Regions from separate parts of the Homo sapiens genome. Here regions 1, 2, 3, 4, 5 and 7 are each linked to region 6. The links are contacts of gene promoters, found by promoter capture Hi-C in human tissues and cell types (Jung and others, 2019). All regions are on one chromosome and are shown on one strand. Each heading gives the region's core, a stretch centred on a gene start or on the middle of the fragment in contact. The rest is flanking DNA. Distances are from core to core; before and after follow the strand shown.

Region 1 (2,700 bases), core at 172-2,671, 620 kb after region 6:
GGAGTTCAAGACCAGTCTGGTCAACATGGCAAAAACCCCATCTCTACTAAAAATACAAAAAAATTAACCAGGCGTGGTGGCGCATGCCTGTAGTCCTAGCTACTTAGAACAGTGAGGCAGGAGAATCGCTTGAACCCCAGAGGCACAGGTTGCATTGAGCTGAGATCGTGCCACTGCACTTCAGCCTGCGTGACAGAGTGAGACTCCGTCTCCAGAAAAAAAAAAAAAAAGGCAGAAGCCCACAGACAGCATTTACAACAACGCTAGGTGACAAGGTACCCCCATAAACCCCAAAATATAAGCAGGCAAGGATAAAGTCACAGCCACAAGGCCTACATGGTATCTGCGTAGAACACAGAGGCAAGCGACAGATCTGATGAAAAGCCCTGAGGAGGACCCCCCCTCAATCACCAACAGACCTCCCAAAATCACCAACAGGCCCCCAAATCACCGGCAGCCCCCTCCCCGCAAATCACCAACAGGTGCTCCTTGGAAGGAAAGTGAAAGGAAAAGAAATCTTGGGGCCCCCATATCACTAAGCTAAAGGGAAAAGTCAAGCTGGGAACTGCTTAGGGCAAACCTGCCTCCCATTCTATTCAAAGTCACCCCTCTACTCACTGAGCTGAATGCCTATCTGGTTGCCTCCTTTGGAGAGGCTAATCAGAAACTCAAAAGAATGCAACTATTTGTCTCTAATCTACCTAGGACCTGGAAGCCCTGCTTCGAGTTGTCCCGCCTTCCAGACCGAACCAATGTTCATCTTGCATATGTTGATTGATGCCTCATGTCTCCCTAGAACGTATAAAACCCAACCATGCTCTGACCACCTTGGGCACATGTCCTCGGGACCTCCGGAGGCTGTGTCATGGGCACGCCCTCAACCTTAGCAAAATAAACTTTCTAAATTAACTGAGGCCTGTCTCAGATATTCGGGGTTCATAAAAGCGTGGTGGGCCACGTTGAGAAGTGCAGTAAAGCCAGGAGATTCTTCCTCTCCCCTAGCAGGTGAGCGCAAGGAGATCCACGGTAACCCAGGCCCACCTCCACTGACTCTCAAATCTGTACTGTCAGGACTCCCTTCCAGGACTGGGCCCTGCAGTGAGGGAAAAAGCTACAGAAGCAGAATCACAGTTTAGCAGGAGCGAGACATTAGAGAAGAGGGAAAAAGAAGATCCAGATGAAATGGGGGATAAGAGCCAGGAAAGCTCAGAAAACAAGCTGCAGTATGCCTAACACCACACGAAATCCACAGGAGAGAGAGCTCTGCTCCCTCTACCACGCCTCTCTCCTAAAGTTTCACTTCCTAACTACACATAAAGAGAAGCAACGGGCCAGGCGAGGTGGCTCACACCTGTAATCCCAGCACTTTGGGAGGCCGAGGCCGGTGGATCATGAGGTCAAGAGATCGAGACCATCCTGGCTTACACGGTGAAACCCCGTCTCTACTAAAAATATTTAAAAAATTAGCCGGACGTGGTGGCGGGCGCCTGTAGTCCCAGCTACTCGGGAGGCTGAGGCAGGAGAATGGCGTGAACCCGGGAGGCGTAGCTTGCAGTGAGCCGAGATCGCGCCACTGCACTCCAGCCTGGGCGACAGAGCAAGACTCCATCTCAAAAAAAAAAAGAGACAGAGAAGCAACAAAGAAGTATCCAATAAAACCATACACAATATTATGAGGAGAAACAGAATAAGTAATAGAATATAGCTGCAGATAAAGATGCGCCAGAAATTCTCAAGTGACTTTGACCTACTGCAAAACAAGCTGGAGACAATACAAAAATGACATAAAAGAACAACGTACGCCAGAACCAGAAAAATGCAGCGAGGTAACCAAACTCAGAACATTAAAGAAAGTATTTCAGAAATGAAGACCAACCTAGAAGGAACACCTAGAAGATGAAAAGAGCAAGTTTGTTTTTTGTTTGTTTTTTTTAGAAAAAGAAAAGGATATGAAGAAAGGGATAGATTTGAGAGGAAGTGACAAATACTGAAGACAGGTAAATAAGATGAACAGAAAACAGAAGCCCCTGGAGAAGAAACCAAAATAACAGGTACTAAAAACTCAATTCAAAAACACTTTGTTGGAATAAAGAGACCCGAAGTTCCACATTGAAAGAGACTGAAAGAACATGCCATGTACCTGAAAATACTGACGGAATGACTAACACCTAGATATAGTCTAGTAAAATCGCTGACGTTTAGAGAAAGAAGAGTTCCTTTGGGCAAGTCTTCTAAGGAGAAGACTTTGACAGCAATGCCTCAAGAAAATGTAGTAACATATTTAAGACTCTCAGAAAATGTGACCTACAAATTTTTGGATCCACAATACTGATTTGTAAGTATAAAGAGCACAAACTAGTAACAACGTGTAACAACTCTGGGAATACTGTAACCATCAACAGTCCCTTGCAGAATCCGTCACAGATGAAGCTTGCAATAACCTAAACGACTAGCAACATACCAACAGAGAACTGGTGGAAAGCATTAAACATAAACTCAAGATGAGACCAGGATTCAAAAGGAATGAGTAAAGTATATACTGGCCATAGGCTCAGGTAAAGTAGATTTAAAATGAATATTTTCTTAAAATGGAAGAAAACAGGGAAACATATGCCAGTTTGTCTGTTTTTGAGACAGGGTCTCACTCTGTCACCAAAGCTGGAGTACAGTGGCGCCATCATGGCTCATTCAGCCTCCAAC
Region 2 (2,998 bases), core at 462-2,961, 670 kb before region 6:
TCCGCCTCCTAAGCCATCTTGTCTTAACAGACGCTATTCTATCTTCTGAGAAGAACATAGGAAATGGAACCAGGAAATGGAACCCCACCACTGTTGGTCCAATTTTCACACACATGGGAATCCCTGACAAAGGGAATAGAACTGAACCAGCTTTACCAAACCACCAGTGAACCTGACAATTGTATTGCGATGGCATGGGATGCATGACGTCATTTCTGGTCATGTCTCTGGTCTCCCTGTTTTCCAATTAATCGCATCCTCATGCAGCCGTGAGGAAGGGAATATAACTGCTGCAAACTAGCTCGTGATTAGCATGTTATGGAGTTAACAGGTGAATAATGAAAGTATATATATATATGTATAAATTAATTGCATGATGAAATGGAGGGTTCTAAATGATGCAGGTGATTGCAGATTACCTGGTGGAATATAGATTATTTTTAGCAAGTGTTTCAGTGACATCTCCTAGAGTCAGTTTATTGGATTTTATAAAAGAAAATTTGCAGCAACAAATTCTGGGGCCCCTTGTATCAGCCTCAGCAAAATCAAGGCAGTATGGGATATAGGCTGAATAAGGGCATCCAAAGCATGTCTTTACCTTAATACCCAGACCTATGAATATGCTACCTACATGGCAAAAGTGGCTTTGCAGACATGATGGAGTTAAGAATCTTGAGACAGGGAGATTATCTTGGATTATCCAAGAGGGCTCACAGTAATCACAGGGGCCCTTAAAAGAGGGAAGCTGGAGAGTTAGATTCAGAGTCAGTGAAAGGGACGAGACAAAGGAAACTGATAGGCGCCGTGCAGGACCATAAGCCGAGGAATATAAGCAGCTGTTAGAAGCTGGAAAAGGCAAGGAATGGGATTCTTCCAGTAGGAGGCCATGATGACACCTTTATTTTCACCCCATGAAAATAATTTAGAACTTCTAAACAGACACAGACCTGTAAACATGACAGACTTGTGTTGTTTTAAGACACAAAGTTTATGGTAATATTCCACAGCAGCAATAGGACACTAATACAATGTGTTACCTGCAGAAACATCAGATGCACTAATGGTGGATCAGAATCGCCCAGGTGGCTTATTGAGTACAGGTCCCCAAGCACCACTCCCAGATATTAGGATTCATTAGATCCAAGTCCAGCCTTCGAGCCCGCATTCTTAACACCCTTTCTTTTCCAATTATCTAGCCTGTACCGATGTAGAAAGGCTTAGTAATACTCATGTAAGAAGATGAAATCCAGAAAGATCTGTTGTTTTTCAAAAGCTGGGTGAAGGTTTATGGAATATGTTTGGCAGAAGTACTAACTAAATCATAAATAAATTTTTTACAAAATCCTAGACTATTAGAGTGGAACAGACCTTCCAGGATGATCTAGTTCAATGCTTGCATTTTACAGCTGCAGGAACTGATGCACAAGGAAGTCCAGTGTTTCTAGGGGGTAAACTATAGAGTTCAAGTCTGGCCCAGAGGAGTCCAGACTTATAGGACCCTAAGAATTAGGTCAAAAGGGATTTGACCTAAACAACAGGGAAAGCCTGGTTCTTAGGGTGTGATCTTTTGCTTTGTGAACACAGCACTGATTTGCAAGTGTATATTTTTTTCTTAAGATTCCAGACAATTCCATAAAGAAGCCCAAAACTCTCAGCACTAAGAGGTGAGCTTTGGAGACAATCTTTGAAACAGAAAGCATAAGAAACAGGAGGATGCCCCTCAGTGACTCAGGATCTCTTTTATGTGTTTTGAAATATACACAGACATGAGATGCCGTCAAGACCCCAACATGTTTCCCCGGCAGGTTCCTTTTTCAGTTAAAGAAACAACCGGATGGAAGAGAGACAGAAAGGATTTCAGAGGAAAATGCGATGTCGCTCAAACAAAACAGGATCCATGATCAGAATGTAGCAGGTCCCCAGAAAATAAGAGGGAGAGAAAACCAACACAGTCTAGTCTTTTGTTCATTTTACTTATTTTCTGAGATGGAGTCTCGCTCTGTTTCCCAGGCTGCAGTGCAATGGTGTGATCTCAGCTCACTGCAACCTCCACCTCCCGGGTTCGGGCCATTCTCCTGCCTCAGCCTCCCAAGTAGCTGAGATTATAGGTGCACACCACCATGCCTGGCTAAGTTTTGTATTTTTAATAGAGAAGGGGTTTTACCATGTTGGTCAGGCTGGTCTTGAACTGCTGACCTCAAGTGATCCACCTGCCTCGGCCTCCCAAAATGCTGGGATTACAGGCATGAGCCATCGCGCCTGGCCCAATATAGCCTTTGAAGTGCACATTTCAGTTGGCATTCTGCATTGGGAAATACTTTCGTTTTGTTTGTGGAAGAAGGAAAGGAGAGAGAAAATGTGTGGTGCAAAGAGGCTTTGAAATGACTTGCCTTTGGGGCCAGGTTGGGATCTCTTTCTCCAGGCTCACCTCCCCCCACCACCTTTTTCACTTTATGGTCCAAACACATCATAGTTCCCTGCACTTGCCATGTTGTTTCAAGCCTCTGTGATTTTATATGGATTGCTCTGTCTGCCTTAGAATTCTTTTTCTTTCCTTTTGCATGGCAAAATCCATTTCCTTTTCCTTTTTCTCTATCACTTTCTCTGAGAGAGCTTTTCTAATAACTTTTGCCCAGTCTGTGTAAGGTACCTTCCCATGTGACCCAACAATGTCCTGTGCCTCTATCACAGCCCTAAGTCTACTGCATTGAAATAATTGTTTATGATTATATTTTCCAACTAGACAATGGGGTCCTTGTAGACAGGGAGATCTATTACTCATTTTTTATTTCTCCAGCGACAAGTCCAGTTCCTGACACCTTGTAGGTATGCAATAAGTGTTTACCAAGACTCCTGCAGTAATCACTGGTGGACCACGTAAGAACATTGTTCAAAAGAAAAAAAGGCTGGGCGCAGTGGCTCACGCCTGTAATCCCAAGTTTGGGAGGCCGAGGCGGGCAGATAATGAGGTCAGGAGATCGAGACCATCCTGGACACA
Region 3 (2,906 bases), core at 104-2,603, 760 kb before region 6:
AAGTTCGTTGGAGGTGTCTGGCCTCATACGTCTATATAGTGTGGAAAACCATTGTTTCTTGGTATTCATTCCCCTCTCCCGTCTTTCTACCATCCCTGAATTTCGATAGAAAATTCTTCAGGTGCTGATACCAATACTTAGCTCCATGATTAGACCATGTGATCCTGCTCAGCCAATCAGCAGCTTACACCCTCCTGGCTATGGTGATTGGTTCAGGGGTGACCACATGACTTAAGCCAGTCTAATTACAGTGAATCTCAGGTGAGAATCTCCAGGTGGGAGTGCTGGACCATAGAAGCTCTTTTCTTCTGAATGCTGTGTTGGGAAGATACTAAGCCTTAGACTCCTGTACACAGTTTGCTAGTGAGAGAAACCAAATCGAGCTAAGAGATTTGCAGAAAAGCAGAGCTGCAAAACTGCTACCCCAATGCTATTTTCAATCCACATTTGAAATTCACCCTAATTCTGGACTTCTCTGTTGCCCAAGTCAATGAATTCTCTCTCTTGTTTATTTTAAAGCAAGTTTATCTTTTCATTACTTGGAACATGAAGTCTTGACTGATAAACAGAGTTCCTCTTTATTCCCCATTAACTTTTTCCTGAGAGAGCTACTGCTGAAAATCAAGTCAATCTTTCCAGTTGATGTGACTGACTTTAGCTGAAGGTGCAGTCTGCCTTTTCATCTTCTAGGAATATCCCCTACCTTTTCTGTAATCCAGCCTGTCAGCATTTATTGAACAACCACTCTGTTCTAAGCCCTGAGCCAGATGCTCTGAGACATCCCAATAATAACAAAGATCATGTCTGTAAGGTGCTGGAAATATAGTAAAATGGAATGGCTTAAGAAATCCATGCTCAGCTGGATGTGGTGGCTCATGCCTGCAATCCCAACACTTTGGGAGGCCGAGGTGGGAGGTTTGCTTGAGATGAGGAGTTTAAGACCAGCCTGGGAAACACAGAGAGACCCTGTCTCTAGAAAAAATATATATATAAAATTAGCCAGACATGGTGTCACATGGCTATAATCCTAGCTACTTGGGAGACTGAGGTGGGAGGATGACCTAAGCCCAGGAGTTTGAGGCTGCAATGAGCTATGATTGTGCCACTGCACTCCATTTTGGGTGACAGAGCGAGAATGTCTCTGAAAAAAAAAAAATAGAAAATGCAGAAAAAAGAAAAAAAAAATCCATGCTTGCTTTGACCCCAGTTTGCTGTGTGATCTTGGGCTAATCACTACCCTTCTCTGGGCTTTAGCTTCCCATCTACAAAATGAGGGCAGTGGTTGACAGTTCTCTAGAATCGTTTCTAGCATTCACATCCCACATCTCTGTGTGCAAATAATTTAAATAAACTCGATACTGTGTCTGGTCAAAATAGATATCTTCAGGCTTATTTATGTCACCAATATTTGTTAAGAGTGTATATATTCTAGGAGCTAGAGAGAAAGTGGTGAACAAAACAGAAAAACACCTGCTTTCTTGGAGCTTACATTGTGGTGGGGAAGGCAAATAATAATTATCTTTGTAAACTATAAATTGATCTTCATTATTCCCAGACTCTGTATTTGTGAATTTGCTTACTTGCTAAAATTTATTTGTAACCCCCGAATCAATACTCGTGACACTTTCACAATCATTCACAGAAATGTGCAGAGCCCTGAAAAATGTTAATCAGGTGATGAAAACATTCCTAGCTTAGGGGAAACGGGGCAACACTCTGCCATCTTGTTTCAGCTGTCATACGATAAACAAATATCTTTTTTTGTAGTCTGTTTAGTGCCATATTTGTCACATTTGTGTGCTTTTTCTTGGTGACTTTGCTGTTTAAAATTGTTCCCCAAATAAAGTGTGGAAGTGCTACCTTGTGTTCCAAAGGCTGTGACATGCCTGAAGAAGGACATACATGTGTTGGATAAGTGTTGCTCAGGAACGTGTTACTGTACTCTTGACTGTGAGCTCAGTGTTAGTGAATCAGTATATGTTACATAAGATGCCTTTAAACACATATATACAAAAAACAAGGTTATGCATTGATTGATTGATAAAAATGTTGTGGTCAGAGGCTTGCAGGAACCCAACCCTGTATTTCTCTTAGGAGCCATGGCTCAGGATTGGCTAATTGGGAGTTGGTGGTGACTTTACTGAAAATAACAAGAAGTGACTATGTACAATGTCACTTTCTTGTTATTGATAAATAAGCCTGAAACTATGTATTTTGACCAGCACAGCATCAAGCTTATTTACATTATTTGCACCCAGAGATGTGGGATGTGAATGCTAGAAAGGATTTTAGAGAATTGTCAACCACTGCCCTCATTTTGTAGATGGGAAGCTAAAACCCAGAGAGAGATAGTGATTAGCCCAAGATCACACAGCAAACTCGGGGCAAAGCAAGCATGGATTTGGTAAGAGCTGTAGAAAAATGCAAAGCAGGGAAGCAGAAAAGGAAGTTTATATTTTATTCTTTTCAACTTTTAGTTTAATTTTTTTTGGTCTCTGTCACCCAGGCTAGAGTGCAGCAGCACAGTTATAGCTCACTACACCCTTCAATTACTAGTATCAGGTGATCGGAAGCCTATAGTTTAAAAGGGTGTCAGAAAAGTGTGTCCATGCAGAGGAAAGGGCAAAAATGAAAACCCTGTGGTGGGAGTGTGTTTTCATGTTTGAGGAGCTGCCTGAGGCTGCGGTGGCTGGAGAGGAGTGAGCCAGGGGGACAGTGGGAGAAGATGAGATTGATGAGATGGCGAATCTTGAATGACAGACCTGCACAGTCACGTTCATCTCCTTCCTGGGTAGAGATTGCTGGGAGTTTGAGAGGCTCTTTCTTGTTGCAAAAGTCCTTGAACTTGAGCAGTAAATTATCCTCAAAGTTCCATTAGCGCACCTTGGCGTGGTTCTCTCCTCGGA
Region 4 (2,788 bases), core at 288-2,787, 640 kb after region 6:
AAAAATACAAAAATTAGCTGGGCATGGTGGTGGGCACCTGTAATCCCAGCTACTCAGGAGGCTGAGGCAGGAGAGCTGCTTGAACCCGGGAGGCGGATGTTGCAGTGAGCTAAGATCATACCACCGCACTCCAGCCTGGACAACAAGAGCCAAAAAACTTCATCTCAAAAAAAAAAAAAAAAAAAAAGGCATGAATAAACACACTTATATGAATTCTGCTGCCCAAAGTAAGAAAATCCCATGATTAAATCCAAGCCAAATGCTCAGGCTGCCCATACAGCTTCCAAATGCTGTATGGCCCCTTTCAAAGTGAGAAGTTTCAAGAAATATTATCAACCAAAAAAGTACATACTTGTAAACAGTACTCAATCTTCTCAAGGTTGTAATGCTAGGCCAGGGGCAAAAATGTAGCAGTTGAACTTCTCAAAATCACGAACCTACAGGATCAAGGATTCCCAAGTACATCTTATAAATCCTTATTACAGTCATTCACTATCGCACGGGTTTTCTTAAACCAGCATAACTAGTACTCTATTAACCAGAAATCTTGGTCAACTGGAAATTCTGTTTTCCAAACTCCACTCAAATGCCTTATTTCGTACCTCATTGCCCTCTCACATTCTGCTCTGCGCCCCTCTTGACATTTCTTCCATACCCCACACTCATCCCTACCCCAGGGCCTTTGCATATGCCCTTCCCTGTCTTCCCCCAGACACTGGGAGAGCTGGTTCCTCCTCATCCTTCCAGTCTTGGCTCCTTTGTGCCCCTACACACACACCGCACCTCCAAAATGCTTTCCCCAACTAAGAAAGCAAACCCTCCCAACCAAAAGATATTCCCACTCCATAGGTCCTTTGCAGATTCACATCATCATCTTGTACTGTCTTCTTGAGAGCTGTACTACCTGTGACCTCATTTTTCAATTACTTGTTAACATCTCAGTTCTCCCCACCCCACTCCTGTAGAATGTCCAAATCTGGACACACCCTCTCCTCACCTACACCTGCTCATCCTCTGCACCACGGAACAGTACCACCATCGAGCAAGCCAGAAACAGAGCCTGCATCAGCTTATGGTCCGTTCTCTCCAACAGAGACCGCAGGATGTGCCGAGGCAGGGAACAGTCCTCAGCCCTGGCTGAACAAAAGGTTCGGTTTAACAAATACAAATCCTCCCAAGACCCCACCCTAGACCAAGACCCATGTGGGGCAAGAAGCTTCTATAGAGGGAAGCTTCTACAGGAGATTTCTAGTCTCCTGTTGCCACCAGCCCCTCCATGACTCTCCACACTGCTCTCAATGGAAACGCCTCTCTAACCATGTGAATTCATCGGTGCTGCATCCTCAGTGCTGCTCCATCGCCTAGAGGATAATGACCCACCACCAGGCATGGTGTGCAGGCCTCTGGTCTGGCCTCTGTCCACTTGAGCTCCTCTCCAGTCACCCTCAACACCCTGGGTAGCAGAGTCTAGTCCGTCAAACACACCAGGCCCTCTCAAGCTTCTCGTAAAGCCCTCCTCCCTGCTACCCCACCTCACCCACCTGCCAAACCCCTAATCAGCCTTCCAGACGCAGCTCCAGTGTTCCCTCCTCAGGGAGGCCAGTCCCGCCTTTCTCAGCAGGGTGACCCAATTCACCCTGGGGGCTCCGCAAAGGACATTCCTATCTACCATCAGAAGCAACAACTGGCCAGACGCAGTGGCTCACGCCTGTAATCCCAGGACTTTGGGAGGCCAAGGTGGGCGTATCACCTGAGGTCAGGAGTTCGAGACCAGCCTGGCCAACATGGTGAAACCCCATCTCTACTAAAAATACAAAAATTAGCTGGGCATGGTGGTACATGCCTGTAGCCCCAGCTACTTGGGAGGCTGAGGTGAGAGAATCACTTAAACCCTGGAGGCGGAGGTTGCAGTGAGCCAAGAGCGTACCACTGCACTCTAGCTTTGGCAACAGAGTGAGACTGTCTCAAAAAAAAAAGAAAAACAAAGCAACAACTATGTTGTGTGATAAACACGTGCTTGCCGGCCCTCCAGGGTGTTGCCGCTGCCCAGCACCATGACCTGCATGGAACAGGCATTCCTGGGTCTGCATTCAGGGAACAGTTACTACGCACCTCCTACGAGCCAGGCCCCGTTCAAAGCACTGGACCCAAAGTGAACAGGACACACAAGACCCCACTGCCTTCAGGCTAGCTCAAGGTCATCAACTATGGCCCACAGGACAAATCCAGCCTGTTGTGTATTTTTTGTGGCTTCTTAAATAGCTTTATTGAATAGAATGTGCCTACCACACATTTCTGCTCTGTTTCTGTGAATGAAGTTTTAGTGGAACACAGGCATGTCCACTCATTTATGTAATGTCTCTGGCAGCTTTCTTGCTACAACAGCAGACTTCAGTAGTTGTGACAGAGACCATATGGCCTGCAAAGCCAAAAATATTTACCCTCTGCCCCTCAACAGAATATATTTGCCAACTCCTCATCTACTTAGGAGGGTGTGGATGCCCTGGACAAGCCCAGTCAGCCAACCAAGTATTGATCATTTCAGAGGGTCAAAGTGATATAAAGAAAATGACGCATGGTACTAGGATGGACGATGAGAGGGTAAACAGACGAGGCCCCTCGGAGGCGCTGACATGTGTGCTGAGGCTGGACACCCTCAGAAGGAGCCGACCGTGCTGAGATCTGAGGGAAGAGTGTTCAAGAAGGGAGCCATCACGTGCAAAGCCATCCAGTTGGAACAAGCCTGGTGTTTCAGTCAAAGCCCGGCAGGAAGTAAGTACATGGCACC
Region 5 (2,944 bases), core at 7-2,506, 690 kb before region 6:
GTAATACCCTGGTGGATGTCTTCCATCTTACTACATTGGACATCTTTGAAAACAAATTCATGACTACCTTCTTTTCTTTTATTTTCTTTTTTTGAGATGGAGTCTCACTCTGTCACCCAGGCTGGAGTGCAATGGTGTGATCTTGGCTCACTGCAACCTCCACCTCCCATGTTCAAGTGATTCTACTGCCTCAGCCTCCCAAGTAGTTGGGATTACAGGTGCCCGCCACCATACTCGGCTAATGTTTGTATTTTTAGTAGAGATGGGGTTTTACCGTGTCGGTCAGGTTGGTCTCAACCTCCTGACCTCAGCTGATCCTCCCACTTTGGCCTCCCAAAGTGCTGGGATTACAGGTGTGAGCCACTGCGCCCAGCCGTGACTACTTTCTTAAGGTAGATTTCTGGAAGAATTATTGTGTAAAGGAAACTGAATATTTTTAAGACTTTTGAAACTTAGTTCCAACTTGTTTACTGCAAAGTTTACTCCAACTGCAATGTATGTAGTTGACCATGTCACTGTCTTTACACTACTAGCATTGAGGGGTAACAATTTAAAGCTTTCCTTCTATTTGTTTGATTTTTAAAGGCAGCCTTTTAAAAAAATTTTTGTTTATCTGAATAATAATGAAACTGATTTTTTTGGTATCAATTTGTCATTTAGGGTCCTTTTCTTCTACATTGTCTTTTCACATCCTTTGTCTATTTTTTCTGCTGAATGTTAATATTTTCCCATGGATTCATATGCTAAATACATTAAACTTTTATCTGATTTTTTTAATTTGTTGTTTTATTTTGTTTGTAATTTAAATAGATTCTATATTGTCAAATTTGTTGAGTGTTTGCTTTGTGATTTTTTTTCTATTGCTCACAAATTTCTCCCTCTTCAGATGCTAAATCTTTAATATTTTAAGATTTTATTCACGTATTTGCACTTATTTTAATCTGATTGGAATTTATTTTGGTATTTAAAGCTTGTTTTCTCCTGTAACAAATAGATAATTAATTGTCCCAGCACCATTTATCTTTTCTTTCACTGGTAACTGGTGCATCTTTTATGTTTCATGTATCTGTCTGTCAACTTGTCTGCTAGGATATTTTATGAAGTATCTTATTAAAATTTTAATTTGTCCTCTTCTTTTTTCTTTTTTCTTTTTTTTTTTTTTTTGGAGACGGAGTGTCACTCTGTTACCCAGGCTGGAGTGCAGTGGTGCAATCTCGGTTCACTGCAACCTCCACCTGCCGGGTTCAAGCAATTCTCGTGCCTCAGTTTCCTGAGTAGCTGGGACTACAGGCATGCGCCACCATGCCCGGCTAATTTTTTGTATTTGTTGTAGAGATGGGGTTTCACCATGCTGGCCAGGCTGGTCTCAAACTCCTGACCTCGTGATCCTCCTGCCTCGGCCTCCCAAAGTGCTGGGATTACAGGTGTGAGCCACCACATCCGGCCCCTCTCCTTTTCTTTATTGATTCATATGATGATGGATACCTGGGTTGCTTTTAGACAGATTTGGTAGACAGATATTTGTTGGACAGATTTAATCATTCCACATTGTAAACATGTATCAAAATGTCACACTGTACCCCATAAATATATACAATTATTTGTTAGACAGATTTAATCATTCCACATCGTAAACATGTATCAAAGTATCACACTGTACCCCATAAATATATACAATTATTATTTGTCAATTAAAAATAAAATTTAAAAAAAGATGAATAACAACAAAAATTGTAATATCTGGCAGGACAAGATGTTCCTTTTACTTGCCCTGTTTTTCCTCATATCTCTTGATCAGTCTCATCTGCTTATATTTTCAAATTAACTTCAGAATAATTGTATTAAGCTTTGAAGCAATCCTTTTTAGAATTCTGGTTAGCATTGAATTAAACGCATTAATTAACTTTGGAAGAAGTGACATTTTAATAATACTAAATTTTCCTATTTAGGAAAATGGCATATTGAGCTCTTCAAATCTTTATATATAGATAGACACTGATATATCTTCATCTCTTGGCCAAGATCGTGTGTGTGTATTTTAACCTTTAGTTCTGGATGTTTTGTTTTTATTTCTATTATTTCTACTCTGCATGGATTTTTTTTGTATTTTCTAATTGCTTTATGTCAAATACTACACAGGAAAAATGTAGACATACTGATTTTGTAACTCATCACCTCCAGACGATAATTATTGTTTCCAATTTTTTTCCAGCTCATTTTGTTTCTAAGTAAGCAATCGTATCTTATGGAAGCAGTGATGAACTTCCTTATTTTTTTTTCTCATGACCTATTGGATTTACTAGAAAATCCATAATGGTAATAAATAATAGTGGTTTCCTTATCTTATTAATAAATGAAAACTCTCTTTATATAATGTTGACCATTGACTTGAGATGGCTAAATAATTATTTTGAGACACTTTCATCTTATTCTAGTTGTACTAAATTTTAATTAGTTATGACGGTTGAGTTATCAAGTGCCTTATTGTTACTTAATCATAAGTAGCAATTATGATTACCTCATTACCTTATTATTATTATAACAACTTGGAAATTTGGTAGAGATGCTTAGGTCATAATCTTTCCTTCTCAAAACTTGATGTTATGGAGGAAAAAAAATGAGACTAGTTTGATGTTTTCATCTTTCCAGGTAAAACATTTTTTGAGTTGTTTTGTTTTGTTTTCTGCCTGGCTACATGCAGAATATAAAAGTTGATCTTTGAAATGCTGAAACCTTATCATGTATATTTCCAGACAGTGGCATTTAGTGTATCTATTTGCATTACAAATTCAGGTCATCCATAAATCTGGACAGTGTTTTGCTATTTTGTCTCTGTGATTATTGCTTTTGTCCCATTTTTTAGGATAGCTTTTTTAGAAACACCAGCTAGTGGTATGCTGAATCTTTATGTTTGGTTCTCCACATCTTTTATTTTGTCTCTATT
Region 6 (2,981 bases), core at 260-2,759:
GTAGAACCGGGATTAATCCAAGCCCACTGACTCCAGGACTCATAGGCATTTATACTCTTAACCACTATGATTCATGGGTGACTCTTGTCAAGGATTAGAGAACAGTAGTTATGGCCATATTAGCTACTCAAACAGTGCTTTGGATGTAGGCAGCTAGTTTAGAAAAGAATTTCCCAAATTTGTAAGATCATAAGAGCTCCCCTGCAGTGCTTGTTAAAAACAGATCATTTTCAGGCCAGGCACTGTGGCTCATGCCTGTAATCCTAGCACTCTAGGAGGCCCGGGTGGGTGGATTGCTTGAGCTCAGGAGTTCCAGATCAGCCTGGGCAACATAGTCAAACTCGTCTCTACTAAAAATACAAAGTATTAGCCAGGCATGGTGGCGCACGCCAATAGTGCCAGCCACTTAGGAGGCTGAGGTGGGAGAATCACCTGAGCCCAGGAGATCGAGACTGCAGAGATTGTGCCACTGCACTCCAGCCTAGGCAACCAGAGTGAGACCCTGTCTCAAAACAACAACAACAACAACAAAACACAGATCATTTTCATAGAGATTTGGATTCAATAGGTCCATTCTGGAATTTGTATTTTCAACACGTTTGACAAATGCTGGCTAAGTAGTTCACTACAATGGCTCTTGAGTTGAAGAGACACTAATTTGGTTACTCGCAGCTTTACTACCTCTCTAGATGTGTGTCACCTTGTGCAAGTTCGTTCATCTCTCTGAGCGTCAGTTTCCCCAAATGACGGATGCAGCTAATAACAGCACCACCTCCTAGGGCTGTAGTGGGGATTAAGTGAGCAGCGTGCAAAGTGCTTAGCGCCCTGCCTGGTGCATAGCAAGCAAAGATAATAACAGAAAGATGGTGGCAGCCACTGGGAAGTTCAGGCTGAGACAGTCTTCCAAGACGTCCACCTTTTCATCTTTTTTTTTTTTTTTTTTGTATTGGCAAGGTCTCTCGCCGTGTTGCCCAGGCTGGTCTCCAACACCTGGACTCAAGCGATCCTCCCTCCTTGGCCTCCCAAAGAGCTGGGGTTACAGGCGTAAGCCACCCCAGTGGCTCCTTCTGACTTTATGATAGAGTTGTCAGATAAAAAAAAATCAGGACGCTTCCATTCAAACCTGCAAAAAGAGAAAAATTTAAAAAAATTAGGACGCCCAGTTCAATTGGAATTTCAGATAATGAAAAAAAAATTTAACGTAAGTAGCTCCCAAATACTGCATAGGACATATTTATACCAAGTCAGTCATTCTTTAAAAAAAAAAATCTGAAATTCCAATTTAACCGGGAGTCCTGCATTTTTACTTGTTAAATCTAGTAACTCTGCCTTTAGGGAAGGACTGACCCCAAAGCCTTATCCCCGCCCACGCGTGCCCTAGACAGTCTCCACTCGCCAGGCGCGCAGGTCGATCCCAGAGGGGCCGCTGGCGCCTCCGCTCCGCCCAGGCAGCACTAGTGGCGCCCCGAGCCACCGGGCCCCTCCCCGTCCCGCCCCAGTCCCGCCCCGAGATCAAAGGGCGTCGCCCAAAGCGGGACAGGTCCAGCGGTTGTTCTGTGTGAAGTCGCGCGGCTTCCACCCACGCAGTGTTCTAAGTGAAGGCCAGAAACTCGCTCGCCATGTCGGCTGCAGAGGCGGGGGGTGTTTTCCACAGAGCCAGGGGCAGGACCCTGGCCGCGTTTCCCGCAGGTACTGCCCGCCCCTCACCCGGGGAGGGGACTCTGGGGCTGCGGAACCTTCCGCCGGGGGAACCTTTTGTTCAGGTGTGCGCTCCGCCAGTCGGACACCATCCGGGGCTGCACCGGGGCCTGGGAGCCGCCATAGCTGCATCAAAGCCTGCTCTTAGGGATTCCAGGGGCGCAGTTGAGAGGCGAGGCCGAGAGAGCGATCTGGTCTAGGAGCCTCCTTGGCCTTGACCTAACTTCCCCCAGAGAAGGGAAGTAAGAGGAGGGTAGCAAAGCATAGTTAATGACAGCTTGGACTCTGCAGCGAGACCTGGTTTCCAAGCTGTGCATTAGCATCTTGGCCTCAGCTTCCACATCTGTGAAACGGGAATACTTGTGGGTGTTACTGGATAAGCGTTCGGTGCATGTTAGAGGGTGTCGGTTTTATTAAGGTTGTTCACCGTTATGTATTCTGTACTCCATAATGACGTTTATTTAAGTCATTCACCGAAATGGTAACACTGCCCCATCAGAGCAGTAGAGAGGGAGGGCATTCGAGAGTCGTAGTGAAGTGCTTGGATTTTGGATTTAGATTATCTGCTTTGCCTTAAAAATGGGTTTGATAATACCTGCCTCATAGGGTTGTTGGAAGCGTAAACAGATCAAAAGTATTTTTGTAACCCGGTGTTGGACGCATGCTAGGTGCTAAGTAAAGAGGGAGGTTTGTTTCTGGTTTGTTGATTCCCCTCTGTGGCTTTTTGCTGCCTGCAGCCAGATCGCCTCCCAGGCTCTCACCAGCTTTATACCCCCAGGGAAGTCACCCTAAATGCCCTATATGATCAGGCTTGTGTCCACTTCCTTCAGGGTTGTCATTCTCTCTCTTGCCCAGTTCTGCAACAGGTTTTGTTGTTGCCCTTGTTTGAACTGCATTTAAAAGGGCCAAGGCCGTTCTTTCCCTGAGGGTCTTGGCGCTTGCTGTTTTCTGCTTCTTTAGCAGGGTTGGTGAGCCTGGCTCTCTCAACCGTCACACCTCATTTTAAAGTTCATTCACTTCCTCAGAGACTTTACCTGCTACCTTATCTAAAGTAGGTTTCTCCGGTAATTCTATGGTAAAACCTTATTTATTCATTTAAGGCGGAGTCTTGCTTTATTGCCCAGGCTGGAGTGCAGTGGCACGATCTTGGCTCACTGTAACCTCCGCCTCCCGGGTTCAAGCGATTCTCCTGCCTCAGCCTCTGGAGTAGCTGGAACTATAGGCACGCACCACCACGCCCGGCTAATTTTGTATTTTTAGTAGAGATGGGGTTTCTCCATGTT
Region 7 (2,789 bases), core at 208-2,707, 660 kb after region 6:
GACCCACTGAGCTGCATTCCCAGGAAGTGAAGCATTCCTAGTCACAGGATGAGATGGGAGGTCAGGAGGACTGGTGTCATTAGATACAGGTCACAAAGACCATGACGATAAAACAGGATGCTGTAAGGAAGCCAGCCAAAACCCAGCAAAACCAAGATGGTGATAAAAGTGACCTCTGGTCGTCCTCACTGCTCATTATGTGCTAATTAGAATGCATAAGCATGCTAAGGACATTCCCACCAGCACCATGACAGTTTACAAATGCCACGGCAATGTCCGTAAGTTATCCTACATGGTCTAAAAGTGGGAGGAACCGTCACTTCCAGGAAATCCTGCCCCGAGCCTGGAAAACTCATGAATAATCTGCCTTTTGTTTAGCATATAATCAAGAAATAACCATAAGTACTCTAAGTCAGTTGGTCCATGCCGCTGCTCTGTCTGCGGAGTAGCCCTTCTTTTGCTTCTTTACTTTCTCTAATAAACTTGCCTTCACTTTAAGCACTTGCCCTGAATTCTTTCTTGCACAAGATCCAACAACCCTCTCTTGGGATCTGAATCAAGACCCCTTTCCATTAGCACTACCAGCATTTACAGCATAGAGCCGAGGATACTAACTGTCCTGAAAGGCCAAGGCAGTACCACACAACCAAGATCAGCCTACTTCCTGCAACACTTCAATCGTCCTGTGGCCATTCATGTAGGCGGAAACCTTACTCATAATCTGAGCCTAGAAAGGAATGCCTTTCATATATACTGACTATGCCAGGTTTACTTTACGGTTCACCCACTCTCTGCTCTTTTTCTGGACTCCTTCTAAAGAATGACTTCTGATCTTCTTAACTTCTTAAAATCAAAACTCATCCATGAGAAGGAGGTGCAAGCACTTAGCGTCAGCATGTTTTCTAGCACAGTTGCGCCAGACCAATATGTACTGAAATCTATTTTGTATTATAAATTCCTTTCATTTCTCTTTCATATTAGAGTGTTATACTGATTTTTTAAATTACTTGTATAAGTAGGTTATATTCGCTATAAATTTCATTTCAGAAGGGGGCATTACCAAATATTTTTATTTAAAACAGATATTGAGTCTTCTAAGATCAAGTCCAAATATGCCAAAGTAGCTGGACCAGCGGTTTGCTAATAATGTCAGATTATATCAGACCGAAATATCTAGCCAAGGAAAAGCACAATGGAGAACACAGCACAGAGACCTTCGGGCTACCGCTTAGAATGGCTGAGCCCAGATTTCACCCACCAAGACAGGGTGCGCAAGACAGCTGGCACAAGAGTGACAGCACGGTAGTGTCACTCTGGAAAATGGACAGAATCCAAGCGTCACAAGCCCTCTGTGGAAGCAACCCACTGTCAGGGACATCTGCAGGCTGCACCTCACCGCATGCACCCCCAATCTGATGGGAGGAACATCCTGGTTTTCCTTTTAAGCAAACTCTCCTCCATCCTTGTTCCTGCTCCACGGAGTTCAGGTGAGGGAAAGCCAGCCACCCCCAGCTCCAGGGGGAATGGGACCCAGGCTTGGGCAGGAAAAGTAACACAGCTGGCCCGGGAAATGAGAGAGTGAATCCCAAGACTTCTCCAGAGCTACTGGAAAAAAGTCTTCTCCTCCCACTGGCATTGTTAAACTGATGGGATTTAGGCTGGGGCCCCTGGGGGCCCTCTTGTCACCACAAGAGAAGAGTTACCTAAGAATGAAGCCAAGACCGAGGGAAAGAGAGAGGAGACATGGAAAGTCATGGGGACTGCATGATATGCGTGATACCCCCTGAGAGCTTTGATCCAGCCCAGCAAAAAGCTAGCTCTTCTCCTGTAGGTTTAAGTTTCATGAGCGAATCAACTGCTCTTTTTCTTAGGCAGTTTAGGGTGGGTTTCTGTCACCTACTACTGACTCTAAGTGGTAAGATTCCTTTTCCTTTTTTTTTTTTTTTTTTTTTTTTGAGACAGGGTATCTCTCTGTCTCCCAGGCTGGAGTACAGTGGTACAATCTCAGCTCACTGCAGCCTTGACCTCCTGGGCTCAGGTGATTCTCCCACCTCAGCCTCCTGAGTAGCTGGGACCACAGGCATGCACCACCACGCACCGCTAATTTTTGTAATTTTTGTGTAGACAGGGTCTCACCGTGTTGCCCAGGCTGGTCTCCTGGGCTCAAGCTATCTGCCCACCTTGGCCTCCCAAAGGACTGGGATTATAGGCGTGAGCCACTGCACCTGGCCTCTATATGGTAAGATTTCAATGAATGGCTGAGGGGCTTCCAGAAAGCCCCAATTCCCAGAAAATGACTAAAAATACATCTTGGGGCAAACGACCATCCACAGGTCTAAAGCCCAGCCTAACTGGCTGCTTTGTGCCAAGAGAAGATGCCAACAGGAGGAGAACAATTAAGGTGCTGGAAGAATTGACATTTCTCAGTGACACTCATACCAAGTGACAGTCACTGGCCCCACGGTCCCTTCAATCCCTCATTTAGCCAATATGACTGAGCAATGCCAGGCACTGTGCTAGGTGCAAGGACGGGCCACTGCCCTCATGGATCGCACAGTCTAAAAGGGAAGACAGGCAGTGCGTGGATGACAACCCGGACTGTGACTGTCAGTAATAACGCTATTCAGGAATACCTACTCCCATGAAGCGTATCTCAGAGGGACCTGATCGGTCTCACGATCAGGCAGGAGATGCTGCACAAAGCCTTCCTCCCTTTTTTTTTTTTTTTTTTTTTTTTTTTTTAGAGTCTCGCTCTATCGCCCAGGCTCTGGAGTACAGTGGCCGATCTC

What was found. The method cuts DNA at HindIII sites, captures the fragments that hold promoters and counts their contacts. A contact is called where the count stands out against the background at its distance.
Region 1: a contact is called between a fragment that was not itself captured here and the fragment with the promoter of CPPED1 in region 6, in 1 of the 25 tissues and cell types used here (hippocampus).
Region 2: a contact is called between a fragment that was not itself captured here and the fragment with the promoter of CPPED1 in region 6, in 2 of the 25 tissues and cell types used here (H1 embryonic stem cells and mesendoderm cells).
Region 3: a fragment that was not itself captured here is called in contact with the fragment with the promoter of CPPED1 in region 6 in 1 of the 25 tissues and cell types used here (mesendoderm cells).
Region 4: a contact is called between a fragment that was not itself captured here and the fragment with the promoter of CPPED1 in region 6, in 2 of the 25 tissues and cell types used here (dorsolateral prefrontal cortex and hippocampus).
Region 5: a contact is called between a fragment that was not itself captured here and the fragment with the promoter of CPPED1 in region 6, in 4 of the 25 tissues and cell types used here (H1 embryonic stem cells, dorsolateral prefrontal cortex, mesendoderm cells and 1 more).
Region 7: a fragment that was not itself captured here is called in contact with the fragment with the promoter of CPPED1 in region 6 in 2 of the 25 tissues and cell types used here (dorsolateral prefrontal cortex and mesenchymal stem cells).

What each region holds. Positions count from the first base shown.
Region 1 is chr16:12,179,414-12,182,113 of GRCh38, reverse strand. The region is part of intron 13 of SNX29 (sorting nexin 29); the gene reads right to left. Among named protein-coding and RNA genes, the nearest start is that of SNX29-AS2, 190 kb to the left of the region's middle. The HindIII fragment of the contact is 7,033 bases long and covers 1-2,700 here.
Region 2 is chr16:13,476,950-13,479,947 of GRCh38, reverse strand. It overlaps a transcript of SHISA9 not described here. Among named protein-coding and RNA genes, the nearest start is that of ERCC4, 440 kb to the left of the region's middle. The HindIII fragment of the contact is 5,385 bases long and covers 1-2,998 here.
Region 3 is chr16:13,557,634-13,560,539 of GRCh38, reverse strand. It overlaps a transcript of SHISA9 not described here. Among named protein-coding and RNA genes, the nearest start is that of ERCC4, 360 kb to the left of the region's middle. The HindIII fragment of the contact is 7,677 bases long and covers 1-2,906 here.
Region 4 is chr16:12,162,080-12,164,867 of GRCh38, reverse strand. The region is part of intron 13 of SNX29 (sorting nexin 29); the gene reads right to left. Among named protein-coding and RNA genes, the nearest start is that of SNX29, 190 kb to the right of the region's middle. RefSeq lists an enhancer at 1,130-1,630. The HindIII fragment of the contact is 5,369 bases long and covers 1-2,788 here.
Region 5 is chr16:13,495,906-13,498,849 of GRCh38, reverse strand. It overlaps a transcript of SHISA9 not described here. Among named protein-coding and RNA genes, the nearest start is that of ERCC4, 420 kb to the left of the region's middle. The HindIII fragment of the contact is 3,360 bases long and covers 1-2,936 here.
Region 6 is chr16:12,802,415-12,805,395 of GRCh38, reverse strand. It overlaps CPPED1 (calcineurin like phosphoesterase domain containing 1), which reads left to right and starts at 1,509. Exons shown (of 4, transcript NM_018340.3): 1 at 1,509-1,689. The coding sequence starts at 1,620. RefSeq lists a silencer at 1,428-1,477 and an enhancer at 1,558-1,927. The HindIII fragment of the contact is 16,943 bases long and covers 1-2,981 here.
Region 7 is chr16:12,139,147-12,141,935 of GRCh38, reverse strand. All of the region lies in intron 13 of SNX29 (sorting nexin 29), which reads right to left. Among named protein-coding and RNA genes, the nearest start is that of SNX29, 160 kb to the right of the region's middle. The HindIII fragment of the contact is 4,224 bases long and covers 1-2,789 here.